Linked DNA regions of Homo sapiens: region 2 is linked to region 1. Evidence: promoter capture Hi-C in 16 types of primary human blood cells and fetal thymus (Javierre and others, 2016). All regions are on one chromosome and are shown on one strand. Each heading gives the region's core, a stretch centred on a gene start or on the middle of the fragment in contact. The rest is flanking DNA. Distances are from core to core; before and after follow the strand shown.

What was found. The method cuts DNA at HindIII sites, captures the fragments that hold promoters and counts their contacts. A CHiCAGO score of 5 or more calls a contact.
Region 2: a fragment that was not itself captured here is called in contact with the fragment with the promoter of GPR157 in region 1 in 2 of 17 cell types (M1 macrophages and megakaryocytes); the score reaches 5.6 in M1 macrophages.

The regions. Positions count from the first base shown.
Region 1 is chr1:9,125,376-9,131,723 of GRCh38, forward strand. GPR157 (G protein-coupled receptor 157) reads right to left here and starts at 3,727. Exons shown (of 4, transcript NM_024980.5): 1 at 3,270-3,727. The coding sequence starts at 3,652. RefSeq lists silencers at 3,584-3,933, 3,994-4,313 and enhancers at 5,015-5,084, 5,105-5,224, 5,515-5,604. The HindIII fragment of the contact is 8,185 bases long and covers 1,134-6,348 here.
Region 2 is chr1:9,250,245-9,256,592 of GRCh38, forward strand. All of the region lies in intron 3 of H6PD (hexose-6-phosphate dehydrogenase/glucose 1-dehydrogenase), which reads left to right. Among named protein-coding and RNA genes, the nearest start is that of H6PD, 19 kb to the left of the region's middle. RefSeq lists enhancers at 1-113, 1,038-1,960, 2,223-2,782. The HindIII fragment of the contact is 204 bases long and covers 2,989-3,192 here.

The DNA.
Region 1 (6,348 bases), core at 2,477-4,976:
GCCCTGTTGGGTTATTGGTGATTAGTGAGCTAATGAATGGAACAGCACTCTGCAAACATCAGGGGCCAGACACAGCTCATGCTGAAATGTGATTTCCTGAGGATGAGGTCTAAACTGCCCTCCTCTCTCTGTAAAGGGGGCCACGCAGGTGCTCTCCTGGGAACTTGTGCACGTGCAGGATTCTCTCTAACCTCCTGCCTTTATGTGGCTGTAATCAGTGTTAGCGATGGTTTCTGTCACTTCGCATTGAATCATATCATTTAAAAAAATGACTTACAGAATTCAAAACCAGTATCAAAGAGCTGCATACCATTTCAGAAGGGGAGGGTAGACTCTTAACTTCCTGTTCCCCCACTGTTGGACCTTGAGGTCACTTCCAAATTCTCACCATAAGTGCCTCACAAACACCTTCGTACATACAGCTTTGTACATATTTTAGATTATCTCATTAGACTAGGCTTTGGTAAATAGGATTATTGGATCAAGGGGTATGAACCAAATACTTTCTACAAAGACTATTTCAATTCACACCATCAATAATACTGTAGAAAAATGCCAGTGAAACTCGCATTTATCATGTTTGTATTCTGCCTTTTTTTTTTTTTTTGATATGGAGACTTGCTCTATCACCCAGGCTGGAGTGCAGTGGCGCGATCGTGGCTCACTGCAACCTCCACTTCCCAGGTTCAAGCGAGTCTCCTGCCTCAGCTTCCTGAGTAGTTGGGACACGCACCACCACACCCAGCTAATTTTTGTAATTTTAGTAGAGACGCGGTTTTGCCATGTTGGCCAGGCTGGTCTCAAACTCCTGACCTCAAGTGATCCGCCCACCTTGGCCTCCCAAAGTGCTGGGATTTACAGGCATGAGCCACCGTGCCCAACTCTGCCTTACTATTTTTTTCCTTCAAATTAAATGAGGAAATGGTACCTTACTGTTATAACTTGTATTGCTTTGCATATTAATGGTATATGACATATTTTTTCAACTGCTGTTACTATTTTGCTTGAGTATGTCCTTTGTCCATTTTTCAGGATATTTGTGGGTTTAAAACAATTCAATTCCTAAACGCACATTAGAATAAGGATGTCAACCTTCTGTGTTGTCGTATTTTAAAATACTTTCTAAAACTGAAAGCTTTGAAGAGGACTGAATTCCAGTAGTATGAAATGGTTAAAAAGTGGATAATCATGTAGTCTATGCCTGAAGGTGATATTTCTCACATCAATAGATCCTGCAAACAATAAACTAATATTCCAAAGAAATACACTGGAGAGTCCTTAGTAAGGTCATTGGCAATACAGTCTGGGAAGATCTAGGTTAACAGATGAACCTGTTAGGCAGGTTTAACCAATTCCCTTAGACTAGCGAAGTCTGAGTGCTGAGAACTCCAGAGAATAAATTGTCAAACTCCCTCTCTAGCTTGGATACAGATAATTTTATTTTCTTTTAAGATGCAGGCAGGTCACATTCAACAGACAAGATGAATACGTTGCTTGTTTTTTCTTTTCTTTTTCCTTCATTTTTTAAAAATTTTTTTCTTTTTTTTTTGAGAGAGGGTGTTGCTCTGTCTGCAATCATAGCTCACTACAGCCTCGACCTCCCAGGCTCAAGCGATCCTCCCACCTCAGCCTCACAAGTAGCTGGAACTACAGGCATGCGCCACCATGCCCAGCTAATTTTTAAATTTTTAGTAGAGACAAAGCCTCACTGTGTTGGCCAGTTGAACTCCTGGGCTCAAGCGATGCTCCTGCCTCGGCCTCCCAAAGTGCTGGGATTACGGGTACAAGCCACCACACTGGGCCTACTTCTTTATCAAAGAAGCCCTTCCTGAACAACACAGAAACCCCCCTAGAGGGTCCGTAATGAGAACCGAACAGAAAAACCCCCAACTCAGGTTTGCTGGGCAATCCTTCTTTTCCACAGAAGCTGGACCAGGTTCTGTTACCATTAAAAAAATACTGTATTCAATATTTTTAAAGACAAGAAGGGAAAGAGAACAGGTTCTTGCAAAGAGAGGTACAGCCTCGACTCCTTCCAAGTACACACGATCTCCCGTGTACTCGGGGCCCACACCCAGCCAGCCATCACGGGACCCAGACAGGGTCAGATGGGATGCTGCCGGGAAGGCAAGGCAAGGCAGGGCCCTATTCCATCTGCAGCATCTGAGCCTCGGTTTGGATGATGTGTTGCAAAGATTTTTTACTTGTACAGCTGAGAAGCAGGTCACTTAGTTTCTCAAGGACCAGCCGGCCTCAGTGCACAACTGAAGGTCAAGCGACTCTTACAGCCCTGTAGCCTTGCCGTGTGACACCCAGGTGACCTGTCTCTGCCAAAGTGCTGACTGTGCTCGCAGTCCTTGGAATGCACTTAAGTTTTTAATAGAAAGGACCTATAATTAGGGCAGTATCTGATGCTCTGATCTGGGAGAAGGAGAAAAGGAAAACAGCCCCTAGGATTCCTGCCCTCAGTTCAGCACAGCACAGGACGCCATGAGATTTTCAAAACCTGACATTCCCCAGGGAAGGGCCGACCCTCTTCAGCGAGGCTTACTTGAAAGACGCTTGAATCGCAAAGTAAGGTCTTGGCTTTTCCCCACTCTCAGAGAGACTCCAGGAGGACTCCGAGACTCCCAGACCAGCCCTCCGCCCCTGCCCTCAATCTCAGAATTGCTGAACTCTGGAAAGTCAAGATCATCTAGAACAGAAATACAAGGGGCTGGGGCCTGAGGCTAGAAACGACCAAAGACAGAATAAAAAGCACAGTCCTTTGTAAACTGTACAGCAGAGACACGGCAGCTCGGGAGTGGCGGAGTGCACCAAGCTCACTGTGGCTTGGGGTGGGGTGGTGGCGTGGGACTGGCAGTTGCCGGCTCTCCAGCCCGGGACAGTTACCTAACTCGTCTCCCAGCCTGTTTCCCCATGGGCAGCAGAGACAGCCAGGACACAGTGAAGCAGGTCACAAGGGGCTCAGAGTGTCCTCCCCAGCCCCGTCCAAGGAAACAGGGCCCGGCTCTGGGGGCGAACTCTGTCCCCACTACCCCAAGGGGCTGTGCCCTGGGGCAGGCACAGCGGGGCTCCTTCGGGAGGGAGCGAATCTCGGGCAAGGCTGGCCTCCTCCCGCTGGCCCAGGACAGCCTCGGGGGCGCCAGCAGGCACTGCTTGCTGTGGGTAGGGGGTGTCCAACCTAGACGCGGCCTCTGGGAGGGCAAGACCGGGAGGGGTCGGCCTGTGTCGGGGGCTCCTGGAAAAGCAGCGCCACCGCCACCCACCTGACGACATGGAAGGCCCAAAGCAGGCGATCTGTGCGAGGCCCGCGCGCGGCGCGGACGATGCTGAGGTACAAGTAGAGCGCAATGGCCACGGTCCAGAAGAAGGAGCTGGTGTTGGCGAAGGTGGACAGCGCGCCCTGCAGCACGCAGTCCCACGACGGGCCCGCGAAGTTCTGCAGCACTCCGTAGAAGTAGGAGGCGGCCGAGAGCAGGTCGGCCAGCGACAGGAAGAGCAGCAGGCGCCGTGCCCGGCTGCGCAGGTCGGGCCACAGGGCGTGCGTGGCCACCAGCAGGCCCGAGCCGAGCGCGGAGAGTGCGCACGACAGCAGCACCACGGCGCGCTCCGACGGCACCAGCTCGGTGGGCGGCGGGGACGGCTGCATGGCGTGGGGGGCCAGGAGCCGGAGCGCCGCGAGGACAGAAGCCGGGCCGCGCGTGCGGCCACGCCGCCGCCGTCTGGGCACCGAGGCGCCCTAGGCTCGCGTCCAGGCGCCCGCCCCGCCCGCGTCCGGCCGCTCCCCCGCCCATCTGGGCCCCGGGCCCTGAACCCCGTCCACGCCCTGCGCCCCGCCCCTATATCCCGGGCCCTGAGCCCCGCCCACGCGCCGCGCCCCACCCCGGTACCCCGGCCTTTAAGCCCCGCCTACACTCCCAGCCCCGTCCCGCCGTCCCAGGCCCTGAGCCCCGCCCACAATCCGAGCCCCGGACACACGTCCCCCGGCCCACATGCCCTTCCCGCCCACACGCCCCCCCCCCGCCCGTGTGCCCCCGCGTTGAGACTGGGACTTAGAGCTCCGCCCACGCGCCCCGATCCCCTGTCCACAGGGCCCAGAGACCTGGGCCTAGAGCCTAACCCACGCGCCCCGCTCCGCCCACGCACCCCGCCACACCCCTGTGTTCCGGGCCCTGACCCTGGCTCAGGTGCCCTTCCTCGTCCCGTTGCCCCGGGCCCTGAGCCCCGCCCCCGCCACGCCCCTGAGGCTTCCAAGCTCCACCCGGTGCCCGAGGCTCCTGAGCCCCGCCCACGCCCTCACACCACGCCCCTAAGCCCCTAGGTCCCTAAGCCCTACCTCAGGGCACCCCCAGGTCCCAGCACCTGTCCCTCCACGCTCCTCCAGGCCCACCCCTGCTCTTGCCAGGTGTCTGGGACATCCAGTCCTGTGAGAGGAAGGGCTGGCATTTTTAGGGCTAATATTACTTTCCCTCTTTTCAGCCAGCTTCTGTGTGTGTTGTGAGTGGAAGGGCGTGAGGATCAGAGGCATTCTTTCCACTAGCAACAGAAACAGCTCTCGGGTATGATCCTCATTCCTTCAGCCGTGATCCCGACGTGTTCACAAGTTGGTGGTGACTTGGGGAAGCCGGCGTTTCCACCTTTTCTTAAAATAAGCATGCTATTTTTTAAAAACCATAGCTAACTAGGTGTGATTTTTAAAAAATGAAATGCTAGGCAGGGCATGGCTTTTTCTTTAAAAATTTCAAACTTTGTAATTAAGATGTAATTCACATACCATAAAATTGGCCCTCTTAACCGAACAATTCAGTAGTATGTTCACAAGTTTGTGCAACCATCATTATTATGTAATTCTACAACATTGTCATTACTCCCAAAAAGAAATCCTTATCCCTCAGCTGTTAGCCCTCAGTTCTCCCCGACAGCCCTGGCAACCACTCTTCTACCGTGGATTTGCTTATTCTGCACATTTCCTGTAAATAGACTCATATGCTCTGTGGCCTTTATGTCTGACTTTTTTAACTTAGCACGTTTCCAAGGTTCATCGTAGCATATGCAGTGCTTCATTCCTTTTACTGCCCCGTAATATTCCATTATATGGATATACCACCTTTTTTTTTTTTTTCTAGAGACGGAGTCTCCCTCTGTCGCCCAGGCTGGAGAGCCGTGGCATGATCTCGGCTCACTGCAACCTCTGCCTCCCGGCTTCAAGCAGTTCTCCTGCCTCAGCCTCCCGAGTAGCTGGGACTACAGGCACACGCCGCCACGCCCGGCTAATTTCTTTTCTATTTTAGTAGAGGTGGGGTTTCACCGTGTTGCCCAGGCTGGTCTTGAACTCCTGAGCTCAGGCAATCTGCCTGCCTTGGCCTCCCAAAGTGCTAGGATTACAGGCATGAGCTACCGCGCTCGGCAGGATATACCACATTTTACTTAGCTATTATTCATCAGCCGATGGACATTTGGGTTGTTAACACTTTTTAACTATTAAGAATAATACCACTATGAAAATTTGCATACAAGTTTTTTTGTGGGTGTATGTTTTCAATTCTCCTATGTGTATACCTAGGAATGGAGTTGCTGGGCCATACGCAACTTTATATTTCACCTTGTGAGGAACTGCCAAGGTGTTTTCCAAAGTGACTGTACATATCATTTTACATTTGCACTAGCAATGAAGGTCGCAATTTCTCTACATTCTTCCAAAACTTTTTTTTGAGACAAGGTCTTGTCGCCGAGGCTGGAGTGCAGGTACAACCACAGCTCACTGCAGTCTCAAATTCCTAGGCTTAAGAATTCTCCCACCTTGGCCTCCCCAGTAGTTAGGACTTCAGGTGCATGTCACCATGCCCCACTAATTTTTTTTTTTTTTTTTTTTTGAGACTGAGTCTCGCTCTTGTTGCCCAGGTTGGAGTGCAGTGGCGTGATCTTGGCTCACTGCAACCTCTGCCTCCCGGGTTCAAGCGATTTTCCTGTCTCAGCCTCCTGAGTAGCTGGGATTACAGGTGTGCACCACCACAACCTGCTAATTTTTGTATTTTTAGTAGAGACAGGGTTTCACTGTATTGGCCAGGCTGGTCTTGAACTCCTGACCTCAGGTGATCTGCCCGCCTCAACCTCCCAAAGTGCTGGGATTACAGGTGTGAGCCACCTTGCCTGGGCCCCACTAATTTTTTTTTTGGAGATGGGGTCTCACTGTATTGCCCAGGCTGGTCTCAAACTCCTGCCTTGGCCTCCCAAAGTGCTGGGATTACAGGCGTGAGGCCACCTCACCCAGCCTTCCTACATTTTGTATTATCTTTGTGATAATAGCCATCCTAGTGGGTGTGAAGTTGTTCCTCATTGTGGTTT
Region 2 (6,348 bases), core at 1,841-4,340, 120 kb after region 1:
ACTTGGCAGGCGAGTGCTGCTGCAGTGGGGCTCAGCATGGGCAGAATGTTTCCAAGGCAGGATTCGGAGCCCGCGGTCTGACTGCTAATCAGAGGGGTCAAAGTGCACGGCAGGCCATTCTCCCCCACTCCCCACCCCACACACACCGCAGGCCATTCTCCCCCACTCCCTACCCCACACACACCGCAGGCCATTCTCCCCCACTCCCCACCCTACACACACCGCAGGCCATTCTCCCCCACTCCCCACCCCACACACACCACAGGCCATTCTCTCCCACTCCCCACCCCACACATACCACAGGCCATTCTCCCTCACTCCCTACCCTGTCCTCTGCCCTGCCAAGGGTTCTGGTGGATCCCAGCTGCTCTCCACCCCTGCAGTGGTGCAACCCTAGCTGACTCCTAGGCAGGAGTGGCACCTGCGTAACCGAAGCCAGCACCCTGAGTGCTGGGAAGGGAGGGGCTGCAAGCCAGGCCTGGGAAATGGAGCATTCCCGGTCCAGAGCTGCTGCAGGCCCCGGGAAAGGGACTTCTGAGCTGCAAGGTCGTTTGGATGTCTTCCCCCACCCGCATCACACACATCTAAGTGGGTGGAAGCCGGCTTCCCCGGCTCCCTCCCCTCCATCCTCCATGCTGGGTGAGTGTTGTTTTTTTTTCCTGCTGCAGCCTCTGGCCCAGAGGAGTTTGCTGCAGAGTCAAGGCTGCTGCACAGGCCGGAGGGGGTGGGGAGGAGGAAAGGAAGACGCGATCTGGTTCCCAGCTCCCTCTCAGCCTGACCTGGGGTGCTCCTCCTGTGCGTCCCAGTCCGTGAGCCCCTGAGAGTCACAGCCCCCCTGGGTACCCTGGCTGGGGTCTCGAAGCAGCATGGGCCATAAAAGGAGAGTCACTGAGCCTCCTTCATCCCAGAGATGACCCTGGCTGGCCCTCATCATGGCATCGGGAGGGCTCTGCAGACAGGCGGGCCCATGTGATTAATGGGCTGTGTTCAGCTGTCTGGGTCCGGCTGCCTTTTCTGTCGGGAGTGCTGGAATTGGAACTGAGGTCTTGGCACCTCAGAGCCTGAGCCTCTAACCACTGAGCTCCACAGCCTCCCCAGCTGGCCAGGCCCTCAGCAGTTGGCCTCCCTGCTGGAACGCACTCAGGGCCAGTCTCCTTGCTGCCCTAGTTTCCCCTCTGTGTAGAAGGCCTGCTGTTGTTGTTGTTGTTGTTGTTGTTGTTGTTGTTGTTAGAAAGAAGGAGGGAGACTTCCTGAGGACATCACTGCTGGGAGGGTCCCTGTCCTGACATGGGGGAAAGGAGCCTGATGCTTGCCCACCTCTGAGGGCTGGAGTGACCGTTCAGTGCCTCTCACCGAGGGACCAGGGCATCCAGGGTCCTTCCAGGCACACACCAGCTGTCCCGCCTTCCAGCCTGGTGTGCCAGAAGGGGCCAGGAGCTCACTCAGCAGGGCCGGTTCCCCTTCCCGCCCCCTCTGCAGAGCTGTCTGCAAGGTGAGCCCAGGGCAGCTGCCGGATCTCCTGTCCAGAGAGAGCACCAGCAAGCACACTGTGCTCTCCTTGGCCCTCACCTCTTTTTATTTTTAGTAATCCCAGAAGGTGTTGATGGGGATTGCAGCTGGCTCTTAGTTGTCTTTTTTTTTTTTTTTTAATCTATTTTTGTTGAGAAAACCTGGATTTCCCACAATGTGGAAGCAACGAGGAAGGGGTTTCTGGTCCCGGTTCTGAAGGCTGTGACCTTCAGCGCACATCTATACAATGCTGATAGCCCCGGCACCTCTCTCTCTCGGGTAGTTCTAAGGATTAAATCAGATAATGCACACGGAAATACGTTACAAATGGAAGTGTTGTTGTTCTTCCAAGTTTGCAAGGAGAGGCAGCGGCAGTGTTCTTGCAGTGTGTCTGAGTTCCACGTGACTTATATTGGATTATTATATAAATCCTGTAATTGATCTGTCATACTTTTATGTCCATTCTTTATGTCATATTTCTCTCTCACATATACATACACAGTTGTATACATACTTAAATCTCTATGTATTAGCAGTCTGCACAACATATACCTTTTAATATTTATATTTCTGTTCAGTTCTGTTCATACCACAGAATATGTGTTATAAACTCTTTTATTAAGCTTTTTGGTTGTTTCTAGTTTTTTGCTATTTTATTATTATTATCTTGGAGTCTTGTTATGTTACCCAGGCTGGTCTTGAACGCCTGGTCTCAAGTGATCCTCTCTTGCTTTAACCTCCCAAATAGCTGAGACTACAGGAGTGCCCCACCTCCCCGGCTTCTATCTTAGATGGTACTTTGTGAGCTTTTTTTAAAATTGAGATACAATGCACATACCACAAAATTTACGCTTTTAAAATATAAAATTAAGTGGTTTTTAGTATATTTACAAAGTTATGCAACTACTATCTAATTCGAGAACATTTATGAGCATTTTAAAAAACATATTCCCTTTAAGTATATACTTCGGCAGTAGAATGACGGGGCCAAAGGGGAGAAGTGCTTTCTAGCTGTTACTCTCTGTTATGAGTCTGAGCAGCACAGCTGGCGGGCACAGCCATGGCCCCCCTGCTTTGTCATCCTCTGACCTTGGACGAGCTCTGGATGTGCACAGGTGGGAGCCAAGTTTACAGGGGGTCTTTCCTCCCAGTGTCCACCCTGGTTGTGCTTTTCTCTATCCTTTTCATATACTGATGGGTTTCAACCCTCAACTTTCAACCCGGGAAAATACACTAGGAGCCAATATAGATCATTTTTAGGAGAAATCAGTCCACAATAACGGGCAGTAACTAGAAAAGATCAACATCAGCAGGAGGGCCAGCCCCTCGCCTCCTGTCCTTGCACTCAGCTGCATGGCCTCTTCCCAGGGAGGTGCCAGGCCACAGTCCCAGTCACTGCATTAAACTCTGAAAAGACGGAGCCAACCAGGCAAAGTCCATAAATCTACAGGCCGTGTTAAACACAGGCGCACCCCCTGAAGCTTGAAATTAAGGAATAAAGGAAGCTCTCTTTTACCCAGCAGGTAGTAAACCCGTGGAATGCATTCTTTTTGAGAATTGAGAGAGGATAAAAATAGGAAAGGGGCCGCTTAGGGATTCGCTACATTAATGAATAGTAAGCAGATAACAGGGCTTTTAGGGACTCTGTTGTGTTCCCTTCATCAAAAATTCATCTGTTTTTAAAGCTTTAAGTATGCTGTTGACATATAAATCCACTGTAATTCATTGATTGGAAGACATTTTTTTCATATTTGGACGTCTCTGAAGTTGGGTTTATCCTTAATAGGGTGACATAGTGGAACTGGAAACCCTTTTCTTTCTTAGGGGTTATAAAACAGCGATGCTTCCGCCACTGATGGCATTTCAGGTTTGATGAAATCCAGTTTATCTCCAGTGTGCGTTGTCTCCCCAGGCCCTAGTTTATACCTCCAGCCGCCTTTTAGATCATTTCATGGGGTGTTGCACCATCCCTTCAGATTCAGCAGATTTAGAATGAAAACCATCACTGCATTTTTCTCATGAAATACCAACTGTGTTTTCTAACCTCTTTATTTCAAATGGGAACAGTGCTCTCTGAGTGACCAGGCTGGTAGCCCTTCTCTTACAGCATCTGTCATAAGAAAAATTCCAACCAGTCTTTATCAGTGTTTCCTGTGTGCTAGCCACTGTTCCAAGCCCTGTGTGGATATTAACTCCTTCAGGCCCACAGAAGCCCTGTAAGGGAGGTGCGGGGATTGTTGCTTGTTCGTATGTGAGGTGATGTCAGTTGCTGGAGATCACAGGGCTGAAAGATGGCAGAGCCGGTATTTAAACCGGGGCAGGCTGGGCACGGGGGCTTATACCTGTAATCCCAGCACTTTGGGAGGCCGAGACGGGTGGATCACTTGAGGTCAGGCGTTCAAGACCAGCCTGGTCAAATGGTGAAACCCCATCTCCACTAAAAATACAAAAATTATCCAGGCATGGTAGTTTGTGCCTGTAATCCCAGCTACTCGGGAGGCTGAGGCAGGAGAATTGCTTGAACCCAGGAGGCGAAGGTTACAGTGAGCCAAGATCGCGCCACTGCACTGCAGCCTGGGTAATGGGGAGACTCCATCTCCAATAAAATAAAACAAAATAAGATAAGATAAAATAAGATAAAATAAACTGGAGCAGCCTGGCTCCAGAGACCACACTCCAGATCACAGCTCTGTACCACCATTCAAGGATCCAGCCAGTCACCAAGTAGTTTGTATTCATCTGCTATAATAACTTCTTTGCAGTTCACTGTGACTTCGTTCCCTCCTACCTTTGTTACTTCCTTTGATGGCAGCAAAGGCTGCCTCACTGATTTCACTACCACCAGTCCCATCCTGTTCATCTTGGAGGTCGCAGACAGCTTCATCTTCCTGAAGTACCTCTTTCGTGCTTCTGCTTCCCTGTTCTAAAACCTTTTTTAAAAAGTTTTATTGAGCTGTAACTCACAAATCCTACTACACTTTACCCAGTTAAGGTGGACAGGCCAGTGAGCTTTCGTGTATTCACAGAGTTGTGTGTCAGTACCACAATCAATTTTAGGACATGTTCATCACGGCAAAGGAAGCCCTGTACCCCTTCGTTGTCATCCCACAATTTCCCCCTCTCCCCAGCTCCTGGCAACCACAGAAATGCATTCTCTCTGCGGGGTTGCCTGTTCTGGATATTTTGTACATATAGGATCATACGGTGTGTGGTTTCCATCAGTTAGCATCCTGAGTTCAGAGTTCACCCATGTTCTAGCATGTACCAGCACTTCATTTCTTTTTACTGCTGAATAATATCTTATTGTATAGATATACCATAATTTATCCAGTCACCAGTTAGTGGACATTTGGGTTGCCTCTACTTTTTGGCTGTTATATATAATGCTGCAATGAGCATTCATGTACAAGCTTTTGTGTGGACCTGCATTTTTATTTCTCTTGAGTATAAACCCAGGAGTGGGGTTGCTGGAGGATCATGACTCTGTTTAACTGTTTGAGGCCAATAACTCTTATTTATTTATTTATTTTTTATTTTTTATTTTTGGAGACAGGGTCTTTATCTGTCGCCCTGGCTGGAGTGCAGTGGTGCAATCATAGCCCACTGCAGCCTCGACCTCCTAGGCTTAAGTGATCCTCCCACCTCAGCCTCCCAAGTAGCTGGGACCACAGGTGTATTTCACCATGCCCAGCTAATTTTTGTATTTTTTGTAGAGATGGGGTTTTGCCATGTTGCCTAGGCTGGTCTTGAACTCCTGGACTCAGGAGATCTGCCCACCTCAGCCTCCCAAAGTGCTGGGATTACAAGCATAAGCCACTGTGCCAGGCCTTAGGTCCCTTTCAAATGCAAGATATTCCTGATTTTCCTGTTCTATTATTGCAGGGGAAGGGAAGAATTGTCTTTTTACATTCTCCCGAAAAGGAGAATTGGAAGATTTGGTCACCCTGGGCCCACACTCCTGTGAGGCACCACCTGAATGCACCTGAGGTACTTAACTGTACCTCTGAGGGACACCAGCCTTACTCCATCCTTTTCGCTTTTGCTGGCCCCGGTAGGCATTGGAATCTCTGAGCTTTGCCCTAGACCCCTCCTTCCAGAAGCTCAGCCGGCTTCTTCATTGTGCTCTGTTTCTAAAGGCCAGTGGTGCCCACGCCACTCAACTTCACACCGTTCTGTTGTAGGGTTGAAGAGTGGGTAATTAAAAGGGAAATGTTTTGGTGGTAAGAATTGCAGGCTCTGGGTCGAACTGCCTGGGTTTGAAGCTATTTTTACCTCTTTACCAGCTGTGTGTGACCTTGGGTAAGTTATCCAACCTCTCTGAACTTCAGGTTCCTTATATTTTAAAATAGGGGAAATAGAGGGGCCTCCTTATATGTTGTTATTCTGAGGATAAATGGACTGATCCACAAACATTGCTGGCATCAGTTTCTCTTTTTCTGGATGTCTTCTCAACAATAGCACAAGAACTTGAAGGCCACAACACTACAGAGCTGGGGGATCTCAGCCATTGTTTTCCCAGTGGAGACCACTCTTGGCATTTTGGTTGGCACAGTTGGGCTGGACTTCCTGCTCATTTCAAGGTTTAGTATCCCTGGACAGAGCTGCACCCTCTAGCTCCTGGTTGTTATGGCCGGGGACAGAGTGCCTTCCTACGAGTGGCTGCCGGCTTCATTTCTTGCCCCCCAACACTGGTGCTGCTGTCGGGAATGGCATATCGGGCTGGATTCAGGGCAGGTTGTTCCCCCAGCCATGACCTGGACATGCTTGCTGTCTGGTTGGCCCGAGAGTGCACACCACCAACCTGGTCAGGGCAGGTGCCCAGGACTGGCGCCATGGACC